Linked DNA regions of Homo sapiens: region 2 is linked to region 1. The links are contacts of gene promoters, found by promoter capture Hi-C in blood cells and fetal thymus (Javierre and others, 2016). All regions are on one chromosome and are shown on one strand. Each heading gives the region's core, a stretch centred on a gene start or on the middle of the fragment in contact. The rest is flanking DNA. Distances are from core to core; before and after follow the strand shown. Region 1 holds the start of STX1A (syntaxin 1A). Region 2 overlaps BAZ1B (bromodomain adjacent to zinc finger domain 1B).

Region 1 (6,005 bases), core at 2,444-4,943:
TGAAGCCTGGGTATGGTAGCTCATGCCTGCAATCCCAGAAATTTGGGAGGCCGAGGTGGGTGGATCACCTGAGGTTAGGAATTCGAGACCAGCCTGGCCAAGGTGGAGAAACTCCATCTCTACTAAAAATACAAAAAATTAGCCAGGTGTGGTGGCACATGCCTGTAATCTCAGCTATCTGGGAGGCTGAGGCAGGAGAATTGCTTGAACCCGGGAGGCGGAAGTTGCAGTGAGCCAAGATTGTGCCATTTTACTCCAGCCTGGATGACAAGAGTGAAACTCGGTCTCTAAATAAATAAAGGAATGATAATCTGGCCCTCGATGGGCTTCCCTTTTCTGCACAATAGTTTAGCATCCAAGGCCTCCCCCTTCCTTGGGCTCATCCCCCACCTATGTCCACCCAAGTGCCACAGCAGGCTCCTGAGGTGCTCCCGGTAGAGTGCTCCATTTTAGAGAGCTCCCCACCCCCACCCCTGCCCCAGCATCCTTCCTTTGTCCACTCCCTGCTGCAATCCCACTGCAACACCCTGTTCGAATGTCACCACCTCTGGGAAGCCACCCTGGTTCCCTCACCTACCAAAACCATGTCTGTCTCCCCCACTGCAGTGGGAACATCTTGAGTGCAGAACAGTGGCCCCAGAGCATGGTTTCCCATTTAATGTTTGATGAATGAATGAATGATTAAATGAGGAAAAGACTTAGCAGAAAAACAGAGTTTAAAGAGAAGGGCAAGCCCGGGTGCAGTGCCTCACACCTGTAATCCCAGCACTTTGGGAGGCCAAGGCGGGTAGATCATTTGAGGTCAGGAGTTCAAGACCAGCCTGGCCAACATGGTGACGCCCCATCTCTACTACAAATACAAAAATTAGCTGGGCGTGGTGGCGGGTGCCTGTAATCCCAGCTGCTCAAGAAGCTGAGGCAGGAAAATCACTTGAACATGGGAGGTGGAGGTTGTAGTGAGCCTGGATTGCACCACTGCACTGCAGCCTGGGTGACAGAAAGAGACTCAGCCTTAAAAAAACAAACAAACAAAAAAAAGAAGTGAAAGGCACACTTTTTTTTTTTTTTTAAGAGATGGAGTCCAGGCTGGTCTTAAACTCCTGGCCTCAAGCAATCCTCCCTCCTGGGCCTCCCAAAGTGCTGGATTACAGGCATGAGCCACTGTGCCTGGCCACATTTATTTCTTTATTCATTTTTCATGCTACTATTTAATATGCGTCTCAATGAGTGATGCTTGGTGTGACACCAGGGCTCTCAGAGGGCAGGAGCTGAGCCTCCCTTTCCTGCCCTCTCCCTAAGGGGCCAGACACTGGGCTCTGGGGGCATACCTGTGACCCACCCCACTGACTCACCCTGCAGGCTAGACCAGGAGTCAGGCAGACTCCCCTGTCACTTGTCATCTCTGGGCAAGTTCCTCTAGCACTTACCTCCTTACTTTTCCTCTGTGAAGTGGGGCGCCATCAATGCCCATTCTGCAGGGCACCCAAAGTTGAAGCCGGGACAACTGGAACAGGGTGTGGCTGTTCCCTCTGCCAGGCCACATCGGACCGTCTTGGGCCAGATTTTCCAGGGAAGAAGGGAAAGCTGGAACAGTGTCCCTAGCTTGCCTGGCAGCCAGCTAACCTGTGCCCATAGTCTGGGAGAGGTGCCAGGCCCAGACACACTGGGCAGCAGGGGGCTGGATTGGCTCCAGAGCTCCAATGCTTTGGCAGTCCTGGGGAAGGGAAGGGATGTGCTTGGCTTCAGGTCAAGAGGGTGTGGGCCACAGAAGTGACAGCTGGGGGTGGTGGAGGGCACAGCGGGCTTATGGGGGTGTGTGCGAGACCACTGTTGCAACAAGATGCTGGCAGGGACCTTCAAAAGAACATCTGCTGTTGACTGGCCTCCCCACTCCCACTCCTCCACAGGTTTTCCCATGAGTCCTAGAGGAAGCCAGGCCCCAGGCTTCTAGATAGAAAATAGAACCTACATTGGCCAAGTGTAATCCCAGTGCTTTGGAAGCCCAAGCCAGGAGGATCGCTTGAGGCTAGGACTTTGAGACCAGCCTGGGCAACATGAGGAGACCCCGTCTTTACAAAAACGAAAAAAGAGAAAATAGAACCTCAGGCCTAGAGCCAGAGTTCAGGATTGGGGATGCAGGGAAAGGAGGAGAGGGGGGCCATAACTCAAATCTCTTTCCCAAAGATAGAGTAGTTCCTGGCTGGGTGCAGTGGCTCACACCTGTAATCCCAGCACTTTGGGAGGCTGAGGCAGGCAGATCACTTGAGGTCAGGAGTTCGAAACCAGCCTGGACAACATGGTGAAACCCCTTCTCTACTAAAAATACAAAAAAATTAGCCAGGCGTGGTTGTGGGTGCCTGTAATCTCAAGCTACTTGGGAGGCTGAGGCAGGAGAATTGCTTGAACTCGGGAGGTGGAGGTTGCAGTGAGCCAAGATCGTGCTACTGCACTCCAGACTGGGCAACAGAGTGAGACTCCGTCTCAAAAAAAAAAAAAAAAAATAGGCCGGGCACGGTGGCTCACGCCTATAAGCCCAGCACTTTGGGAGGCCGAGGCGGGAGAATCAAGAGGTCAAGAGTTTGAGACCAGCCTGCTCAACATGGTGAAACCCTGTCTCTACTAAAAAATACAAAAAATTAGCCGGGCGTGGTGGTGGGCACCTGTAATCCCAGCTACTTGGGAGGATGAGGCAGGAGACTCGCTTGAACCCAGGAGGCAGAGCTGAGATAGCGCCACTGCACTCCAGCCTGGGCGACAAGAGTGAAACTCCATCTCATAAATAAATAATCAAACAAACAAACAAACATAAAAAGATAGAGGAGTTCCTTCATCCTGCAGGAAAAAGGGGTGGGTCACGCAGCATCAGAGCTGTGAACTGAGAAATCCTAGGGAAAGAAGAGGCCAGTGCCTGAGTCCCTACTGGATGATGGGAGCAAGGGGGAAGGGTGGAGGCTCCCAGACTGGAACTCTCCAGGAGGTTTTTGGCTGGGGAACAGAAGGGAGAGCAGGAGGTCCCAAGGTAATGAAATGAAGGAGGGAGTTACAACCTTCAGCAAATTCTGGGGAAGTGAAGGGATCTGAGGATGAGGACCGGATTCTGGGACAGGGATGCTGAGCTGCTAAGTCGGGAAGAGGCTGGAAGCCAGGCACGGTGGCTCACGCCTGTAATCGCAGAGCTTTGGGAGGAGGGAGGATCGCTTGAGGACAGGAGTTCAAGACCAGCCTGAGTAACATAGCAAGACCCTGTCTCTACAAAATATTTGAAAATTATTCAGGAGTAGTGGCGAGCAACTCTAGTCCCAGCCACCCAGGAGACTGAGGCGGGAGGATTGCCTGAGCTCAGGAGCTCAAGGCTGCAGTGAGCTATGATTGCACCACAGCACTCCAGCCTGGGCGACAGAGCGAGACCCTGTCTCCAAAAATAATAAATAAAAAACGAGACAGGGCTGGGGCAGAGGAGGCAGCAGGGTCTCTGGGGACCCATCCCCGGGAGCGATCACGCGTGCGGAACGTCCAGGACGAGACCCCAGGGCTTCGATCCCCACGGGGCTGCTCGTGCGGGGTGGGGCGGGGTCTGGGCGGGGTCTGGGCGGGGCCCGGGCGGGGTGGGGCGGGGCCGGGGTCCCGGGGGCCGGGGCGGGGCCGGGCTGGCGCTGCGCAGCCGCGGGGCGGCCGTCGCGCATGCGGGGCTCACACGGCTGCAGCCGGCGCCGCTGCCACTCCCGGGAGCATGAAGGACCGAACCCAGGAGCTCCGCACGGTGAGTCCGGCCCCAGCGCGCGGCCGCCCGCCGCCCGCCGCCAGCGCCAACGCGCCGGACACTTCCCGCCCGGCTCCCGCGGCCAGGATGGTGGCCGCTCCTGCGCCCCCAGCCAGGGCTGAAGGGAGCGGGGCGAGCCAGGGACCTCGACCCCCCTCCGGGTTCCGCCCCTCGGACCCACTCGGGGTCAGGCTCGCGTGAGCTCGGCCGCGCTGACACGTGGACGGTCGGCTGGAGTCCGGGGTCCTGGATAAACTTTTCGGGGCCCTCTTGATTTGGGGGGTTCGGAGGGTATGATGGGGTTTTGGTGGCGGGACCTCTTCCCCCTCCCGCAGAGCAGGCCCTTTCTCTGGCCCCCTCACTGCCCCTCATCTCTGACCTCCCGTGCCCCCTCGGTGTAGACAGACGAGGGGACCGCGGTGGGAACCTCCTTGGTGTAGACAGACGAGGGGACCGCGGTGGGCCGGTGCCGGTCCCCTGCGCGGGGCCCCGCTGCGGGGCGCGCTGCGGAAACCTGATCGTCGGGTGGTGGCGGCCTCCTCGGGCCACCCTGGTCACCTGTGGCTCCCATCACCTGTGGCTCCCCCTCTGCTTGGTCGCAGTAGGGATCCACTGCCCGCCCCAGGTATGGGGGGGGGGGCGTCACACCCGCCCCCGGTCCACCTATCCACCTTCGGGCTTTCGGGCAGCACTGGCTGGCGTTTCCAGACCCTTCAGGGTTCCTTGCGACTTGGATCTATTTTTCTACCTGTATCTGGGAAACCCCTGGGGTGTGGCTCCTGGGGCGGGGTTTGGGGGGAGTAGGAGGATGCACAAACGTTCTGAGTCAGAGCCCACCTTCTCCCAGCCCAGAGACCCCTGCAGCCTGCGTGGGTCCCCTTCCCCTGGCCTCTGCCCTTAGGGATGAGGAGCCCAGGAGGATGGTGACCGGGAGTGGAGGACAGCGACGGAAATGAAGCCTCTCTGGGTGTGTCGGGGAGGGGGGGTGGATCAAGGCTCAAGACTAGATTGAGTCTCATCTGGTCATCTGGTCCCCTGGCTGGCCACCTGGCTGGCAGCCCTGCCTGCTGATCCCTGGGAGCACCCCCCACCCCGCTCCCTGGGCTAGGAACTAGAACCCTAAGGTCCCCTCCTATGGAAAATGTCAAGTGTCCTTTGGGCATTTGACCCCACGGCTTGTCTTCTCCACCCAGAGGCTCCCTGAGTTGGAGCCTGTCTGCCCCATTATGTCATGGTTGCCTCCTGGGCATCCTGGAGCCGGGACCTGGGCTCCCCTGCCTTCATGTCCCCCACTTGCTCTGGCACCACGGCCTCCACTTTGCCTCCAGACCTGTTATTCCTGGCCGAGCGCCCAGCCCCTGGTGTAAACCCCATGAGGTTTCAAAGGAAGAAGATGGTCCCTCAAGTCGCATATGGGCTCTAAACACTTCCCCCGCGGCCCCTGTGGTTGCCCTCAAGTTTCCTGAGCTCCGTTGAGTCAGAATGAGTGTTTTCCTGGTGACGGATGGCTGTGTGGTGTAATGTGCTGATGTTTAGGCGCCTGGTAGGTTACCTGAGGGTGTGTGTGGGAACCAAGTGGTCAGGGGAACCATGGGCCCCTACATAGGATAATAGCCTCTGGCATGTCAGCCTTCATCCCCCTAGCTGAAGGGGAAACTGAGGCACAAAAGAAACACGGCTTGCCTGCTAGAGGGAGGGGTGGTAGAAAAGGGCTTTGCCTCATCCCTGAAGATAGTCAGACTCAGGCCTGGCTGACACTGGGGGACAGCCAGTGGAGCTGGGGTTGTGAAGCGTTTGAACCCAGATCTTTTTGCTCTGATGTCTGTCTCTGTTACTACCTCCTCGCCCCCTGATTAGATGGTGAAGCCAGGCTTTGCTTTGAATGGTCTGAGGCTTCCGCTCCAGACACCCCCACCCTCCCCACACAAGGCATTCAGAGCCCAGGGAGGCTGTACCCATTGCTGGGTGGCCCTGCCCAGGGAGGGCTTTCTAGCAGACAGGTGGACGGCTGGCAGGCAGGAGCCCACCCGGGGTGGGGTGAGACAGTCAGTCTTGGTGGGGCCACTGTTCCCACAGGCTGCTTTCCCTCTGGACCTAGGGTTCCCATCTGTGAAGTGGGGATGGGAAAGCCTAGAATTCAGTTTCTCGGGACGAGAAGCAGGGCTACAGGTCTCCTGACTCCAGCTCCACATTTGTAGGAGGCCTGAAGCCCCAGGAGTCAGAATTTTCAGCCCAGAATCCCCAG
Region 2 (6,005 bases), core at 2,024-4,523, 270 kb after region 1:
AAATTTATACACACAAGGCTCCCTGTGATTCTCTGTTTCTATAGGAAAGAGAAAAAGCAGCCCTGTTCCCCTCATCCCTCTCCCCAGTCTGTTTAGTACCCCACTTCGGAACAGAATCAACTATCTTTGTTCCTTGGCACCTGTATTTTAAAGCCCATGACCTTCCAGGATAACTGGCTGTTTTCCTTTAGGAGATTCATTACTTCACAAGGACTTCTTTGCTTCGGGCAGGGCATTGAAATCCAGCTGTGGTATTGGATTGGTGGTGTTGTGGTAGGTTATTGATTATCTTTTAAATCGGAGTTTTATTAGCTGTCTAAAATTGTTGCATTATAGCATTTACAGCATACAGGTGATCCTATTTTTAAATTATACTGAGTTGTTAGGTGGATTTCCCTAGAAGATGCTTGTCCCCAGTCATCCACCCACTCCACTGCATCTCTGTGTGACCTTTGGCAAGTTTTTTTCCCCCTTTGGAGCCTTTTATAAGAATAAATGGTTTAGATTAGTGAAGTTCTAGGAGGCAAGTGTCCTCAGAATTCTCTCATACTGTCCCCTGTTCCTAGTTCTCTCTCAGTGTCTTTGGTCAGTGTAGTAATGCTGGCCTGGTTTGGTCTCTGTTTAGGTTGCATCTGCACTGGAGAAATGGAAGACAGCAATCCGGGAAGCTCAGACTTTCTCCAGGATGCACGTGCTGCTTGGGATGCTTGATGCCTGTATCAAGTGGGATATGTCCGCAGAAAATGCTAGGTGCAAAGTTTGTCGAAAGAAAGGTATATTTAAATCAAATTTGCTTATGTGGGTATATTAGGGAGTAGGATTTCTATTCCCAAGATCTTCATTTCTACCCAAAAGAATTTTGTGTACACAGAATATAAGTGTGGTATAGATTTTACTCTCCTGCAGGTCTGTAACATGCCAGTCTTTGAAATGTCGTGCCAGGGAATCAGAGCAGGCCCTTTGTTCCTCGGTTTAGAGCATAACATAAAAGCAATTGATCTCTTCAATCTTCTGATTTTTTACAGAAAACAAAATTAGTTAATCCTTGTAACTATTTTAGTTAGTTTAGTTTTAAATCCTTTGATTGGCTCAGAACTTTAGTCATCTGTGAAGTAAGATATGTGCTTTCAGCAGGAGGCAGTCCGGGTACAGAGGGTGGCATGCAGTCTCATATGTGCAAAAGGAACTTCATGGTTAGAAGCCCCTTGCTGATTGGCTTTTCAGTGGCTAGAGTTATTTTCTGAGTTAGGTTAGAGATGAAAAGATCTACGTAAAATCATTCAGTTGCTGTAAAGCGTTCAATCGCTCTAGAATGAAGGTTGGAAGGAGAGATTACCATATTAAGTTGACTCAGCACAACACTTTTTCAAATGTAAGAAACCACATGGTTTAAGGGAACCCATCAGGGGCCGGGCGCGGTGGCTCACGCCTGTAATCCCAGCACTTTGGGAGGCTGAAGCAGGAGAATCACTTGAACCCGGGAGGCGGAGGTTGCAGTGAGCCGAGATCGCGCCACTGCACTCCAGCCTGGGTGACAGAGCAAGACTCTGTCTCCAAAAAAAAAAAAGAGAGAGAGAGAACACTCATCAGGCATAAGTTGAGAAACGTTTGGGGAGGTCGAAAAAGCAGCAAAATTTCCTACTCTCACTTGGGTTTTTTGTGCCTCTTAGTAATTGTTAACTGTTCTGTCATAGCCATGGGTAAGTTTTGGGATATAAATTAGGAGACCTGATTCCCAAATTATCTGTAATCTAAGTTATGCTTCATTTCTTTTTAGAAAATGCCTGCATTTACAAAGCAACAACTGGGTAGCATTCTATGGAACATGTCTCCTCGTGTGCCTTGAATTGTAGGGTGATTGCCTCTTCCTTACAGCTCATTGACTGCTGCTGTGCTCCCAACAATGCTATTCACATTTATCTCTCTGCAGGTGAGGATGACAAATTGATCTTGTGTGATGAGTGTAATAAAGCCTTCCACCTGTTTTGTCTGAGGCCGGCCCTCTATGAAGTACCAGATGGTGAGTGGCAGTGCCCAGCTTGCCAGCCCGCTACTGCCAGGCGCAACTCCCGTGGCAGGTGAGAATCTTTTCTTTTAAAAATAATTGAATGAATAAATATGAATAGCTGTTATAATTAAGCTTGAGTTATTCAAACAGAATGAATCTAAGGAGCTTTAAGTTCATCTTTTGGGTACAGAGCCTGATCATTTACAGTACTTCAATAGGAGCTCAAAGGACTCTGAGCTAATTTTAGCTGAATGTTGACATTTCTAGTTTTCACTGCCAGCCACATTCTCTGTCTTCTTGATCATACCTTCTTCTCAAGTAATGAAATCTCTCTCTCTGCCTTTAGCCTCCTGTTGCCCACTTCCTGTGTCTTCATGATTACTTCTGCTATCACCCACTGCTAAAAATCTCACACTCATTACCTTCCTTACCGATACATAATGTTTTCTTCCCTATCATGAGTAGAACTTGGGTGTCAACTTGGAAATGAACATCTCTCCCTCATCCTACAAACCCATTAATTTGCCATGATATCAATCCAATGCCCAGATGTTTGATGATCCAGTTTCTTGCTCTCCATTCTCCGTGGTCTCCGCTATCATTTGTCCCTTCTACATCTGTCACCTGGGCTCCTTTGGTGGCTTCTCAACTCCTCTTTCTTATATCACGTCTTCTCCCCTCTTATCCACCCAACTATTGCAACACCAGAATGCTGTACACAAAGCAAAGATCTGCTCACATTCCTGATCACAAACTTCTAGTCTTCCCATTGCCTCTAGAATAACATCCCAATTCCTGGCCTCACTTCTGAGACTCTTACACAATACCAGCTTGGGTTTTTATTAGCTTTAGATCCCATATTTGTGTACTTGTTACAGACCGTTTGTTGTTCATCCTTGCCTCTTGTGCCTTTCTCCCAGCTGGGAACATTCTCTGCCCAGAATTCCCAGTGGGTAAACTGCCCATGGCTTCGCTAAAATTTCACTGCGCTTTTGAAAAGTGCTTGCATCCTTAGGCTTCATGGTTTCTCCTCTGTGTTCAGCTGAACCTCCATTCTCTGAAGTAGTATTTTGGTGCATGGATCTTGTCTCTGGTTTTATACATGTCTGTCTCCCATGAGATTATGAATGCCCTGAGAGTAGAGGTGGTGCTTTGTTTTTTTACTTGAATCTCAATAAGGCCAAATACCGGGCCTTGTAAAGAGGAGACACCTTGTACTTGCCAAGATAATACTGTTGTTTTCCACACTGAAATTTGGGGTTGTAAAATGTGCAGCTTATAGGTACTCTGGCTTGGGCTTCTTTTTTGAGACGGAGTTTCGCTCTTGTTGCCCAGGCTGGAGTACGATGGCGCGATCTCGGCTCACTGTAACTTCCACCTCCCAGGTTCAAGCGATTCTGCTGCCTCAGCCTCCCGAGTAGCTAGGACTACAAGCATGCGCCACCACACCCAGCTCATTTTGTATTTTTAGTAGAGATGGGGTTTCTCCATGTTGGTCAGGCTAGTCTCGAACTCCCGACCTTAGGTGATCCGCCTGCCTCAGCCTCCCAAAGTGCTGGGATTACAGGCGTGAGCCACGGTGCCCGGCCTGGGCTTCCTTCTAAGGGGCAGAGCTGTTTGATCCTGACCCCACCTTAACAGTATTAGCAGGTTCTTTTGCACTCCATCCCAGCTGCACTTAGAGATGAGACATGTTGCTCTGAAATGGTGGGGCTTTGGACCAGCTGTTCCGAGCTGGGATTACCACTGCTTTGATATTATGGTCATCTGCAAGCTGTTTCAGCTCCTGGAAGGGGGCCATCAAGGTGAAGTCACACCTGTCTGGGCTCTGTTTATTCTTTTCAGTCTACCTCAGAGGTGGGGACAGCTTTTAGTAACTGATGTATTACATTATCTGGCTCTTTTTGTGAGACAAAAGAAACAGTGTTTTGTATTGCTTTGTGTGGGGAAGGGTAGGATTGCATTTTGGTCTTAATTTCTGTTGCCTTTGGTATCTTGTCCAAACTGTCTGTGGCCTGGCAGAAGGAGGCATGAGGCATGCTGTTGAAACTTGGTTTTTCATTTTTATGAAAAACTCTCCTGGCTTACATTCAGGTTCCCTCCCTGAATTATCATACGTTATACATATGTAGTCTGTGAAGAGAAGTTTCCTGATCCCTGTGGGATTTGAGCCCTTCTTAGGACCACTTTGGGCTAAAACTGTGTTCCCTACATTATTTTTTCTACCCACAGGAACTATACTGAAGAGTCTGCTTCTGAGGACAGTGAAGATGATGAGAGTGATGAAGAGGAGGAGGAGGAAGAAGAGGAGGAGGAGGAAGAAGATTATGAGGTGGCTGGTTTGCGATGTAAGTATTTTGTCTGCCTTTGTAGTTGATTTCACAGTCTTCTAAGCTTGGAACGCTTGGAAAGGCTGGCTTGGCAGTAGGTAGTGTGGCCGGCTTGCCCTATTCCTTTTCTCTTGTGTTGTGACTGTGGCGTAACTTAGCTGCCATGGGTTTAAATGGGTTTCCAAGATGGCGTTTAACTTCCTGCCTGGTGGGAGAGAAGGTGGCTTGATCTCAGTAACATCAACCCACTTGCTCTAAGATTTAGTAGAATTCATGGTCCCAAGTATATTTATGCCAAGGCTGCTGATTCTCAGCTCCTCGGCATATGGGGACAATGGGGAAGGAAGATCTTGGCCCATTGCCATCTCCTGACAGTTCTTTTGGCTGTTGTTTTATCGCTGCTTTCAGAGAGTGACTTTTTCTGTCTGGTTACAGTGATTTTCTCCTCCCTGCAGTGTGCAGGGTTATAGCTTTGCTGGTTTGAAAAGAGACGACTGATTATTTGAAGGCTTAGGTGGAAGGATGTTAGGAAGATTCAGATCTGTTCTCACTAGATGCCAGTAGGAAAAAAGGCATCATCTTTTGTGTTCACCGCATTGACTCTCATTCTCTCATGTTCATTTCTCATGAGTGTTGGAGAGTCTGGTGTTTGTGGCTAATGTCCTCCAGTCTAGCCTTTCTTTTAGCAGCCTCCCTCTTTCCAAAATACACTTTTTTTTTTTTTTTTTTTTTTTTGAGATGGTCTCACTGTCGCCTGGGCTGGAGTGCAGTGGTATGACCTCAGATTACCTCAGTCTCTGCCTCAGCCTCCCGAGTATACAGACACCCACCACCACACCTGGCTGATTTTTGTATTTTTAGTAGAGATGGAGTTTCACCATGTTGGCCAGGCTGGTCTCGAACTCCTGAGCTCAAGTGATCTGCCTGCCTTGGCCTCCCAAAGTGCTGGGATTACAGGCATAAGCCACTATGCCCGGCCAATACACTTTTCTTTACAGGTTCGTAGAAAACAGACCACAGATCAAAATTCTAATGAGCTTTTGAAGCAGTGGTACAGTTCCCAAGATCATAGCAGCTCTGAATGGTCATACTTGGTATAAGGAGTGAGAGAGAGGATGCCTGGCATGACTAGTCTCTTACTGTAGTGAGACTGCCAAAACCTAATGATTTGGGCTTGCCCGTCTTCTCCTGTCCTCCCACTTTCCCCCCCATACTTCAGAGGTGTGATGTGGGACACCTTAAGCTCTCACATACGTATGGGCTCTTTTTGTTTGTTCACTACGCCTGATTTTTCAGGTATCCTAGGGTAAGTGAACAAATGGCCCATCAGTCCTGCATTCAGGAATATCCTCTTCTGTTGGTCAGAGTCAGTGACTTGGGCACACCTTTGTTTGGGAACATATTTTTTTTGGCGGAGCGGGGGATGGGTATCTTTCTCTGTTGCCCAGGCTAGAGTGCACTGGTATGATCACTGCTCACTGTATCCTCGATCTCTCAGGCTTAAGCAATCCTCCTTACCTCAGCCTCCTGAGCAGCTGGGACTACAGGCACGTGCCACCATGCCCGGCTTTTTTGTAGAGATAGGGTCTTGCCATGTTTCCCAGGCTGGTCTTGAACTCTTGGGTTCAAGTGATCCTCCTGCCTTGGCCTCCCGAAGTGCTGGGATT

Evidence for each region. The method cuts DNA at HindIII sites, captures the fragments that hold promoters and counts their contacts. A CHiCAGO score of 5 or more calls a contact.
Region 2: a fragment that was not itself captured here is called in contact with the fragment with the promoter of STX1A in region 1 in 1 of 17 cell types (erythroblasts); the score reaches 5.8 in erythroblasts.

What each region holds. Positions count from the first base shown.
Region 1 is chr7:73,717,357-73,723,361 of GRCh38, reverse strand. STX1A (syntaxin 1A) reads left to right here and starts at 3,693. Exons shown (of 10, transcript NM_004603.4): 1 at 3,693-3,760. The coding sequence starts at 3,731. RefSeq lists silencers at 3,578-3,777, 3,838-4,037, 4,048-4,107, 4,218-4,297. The HindIII fragment of the contact is 14,118 bases long and covers 1-6,005 here.
Region 2 is chr7:73,445,615-73,451,619 of GRCh38, reverse strand. It overlaps BAZ1B (bromodomain adjacent to zinc finger domain 1B), which reads left to right. Exons shown (of 20, transcript NM_032408.4): 14 at 626-773; 15 at 1,931-2,078; 16 at 4,241-4,356. Among named protein-coding and RNA genes, the nearest start is that of FZD9, 15 kb to the right of the region's middle. The HindIII fragment of the contact is 2,262 bases long and covers 2,143-4,404 here.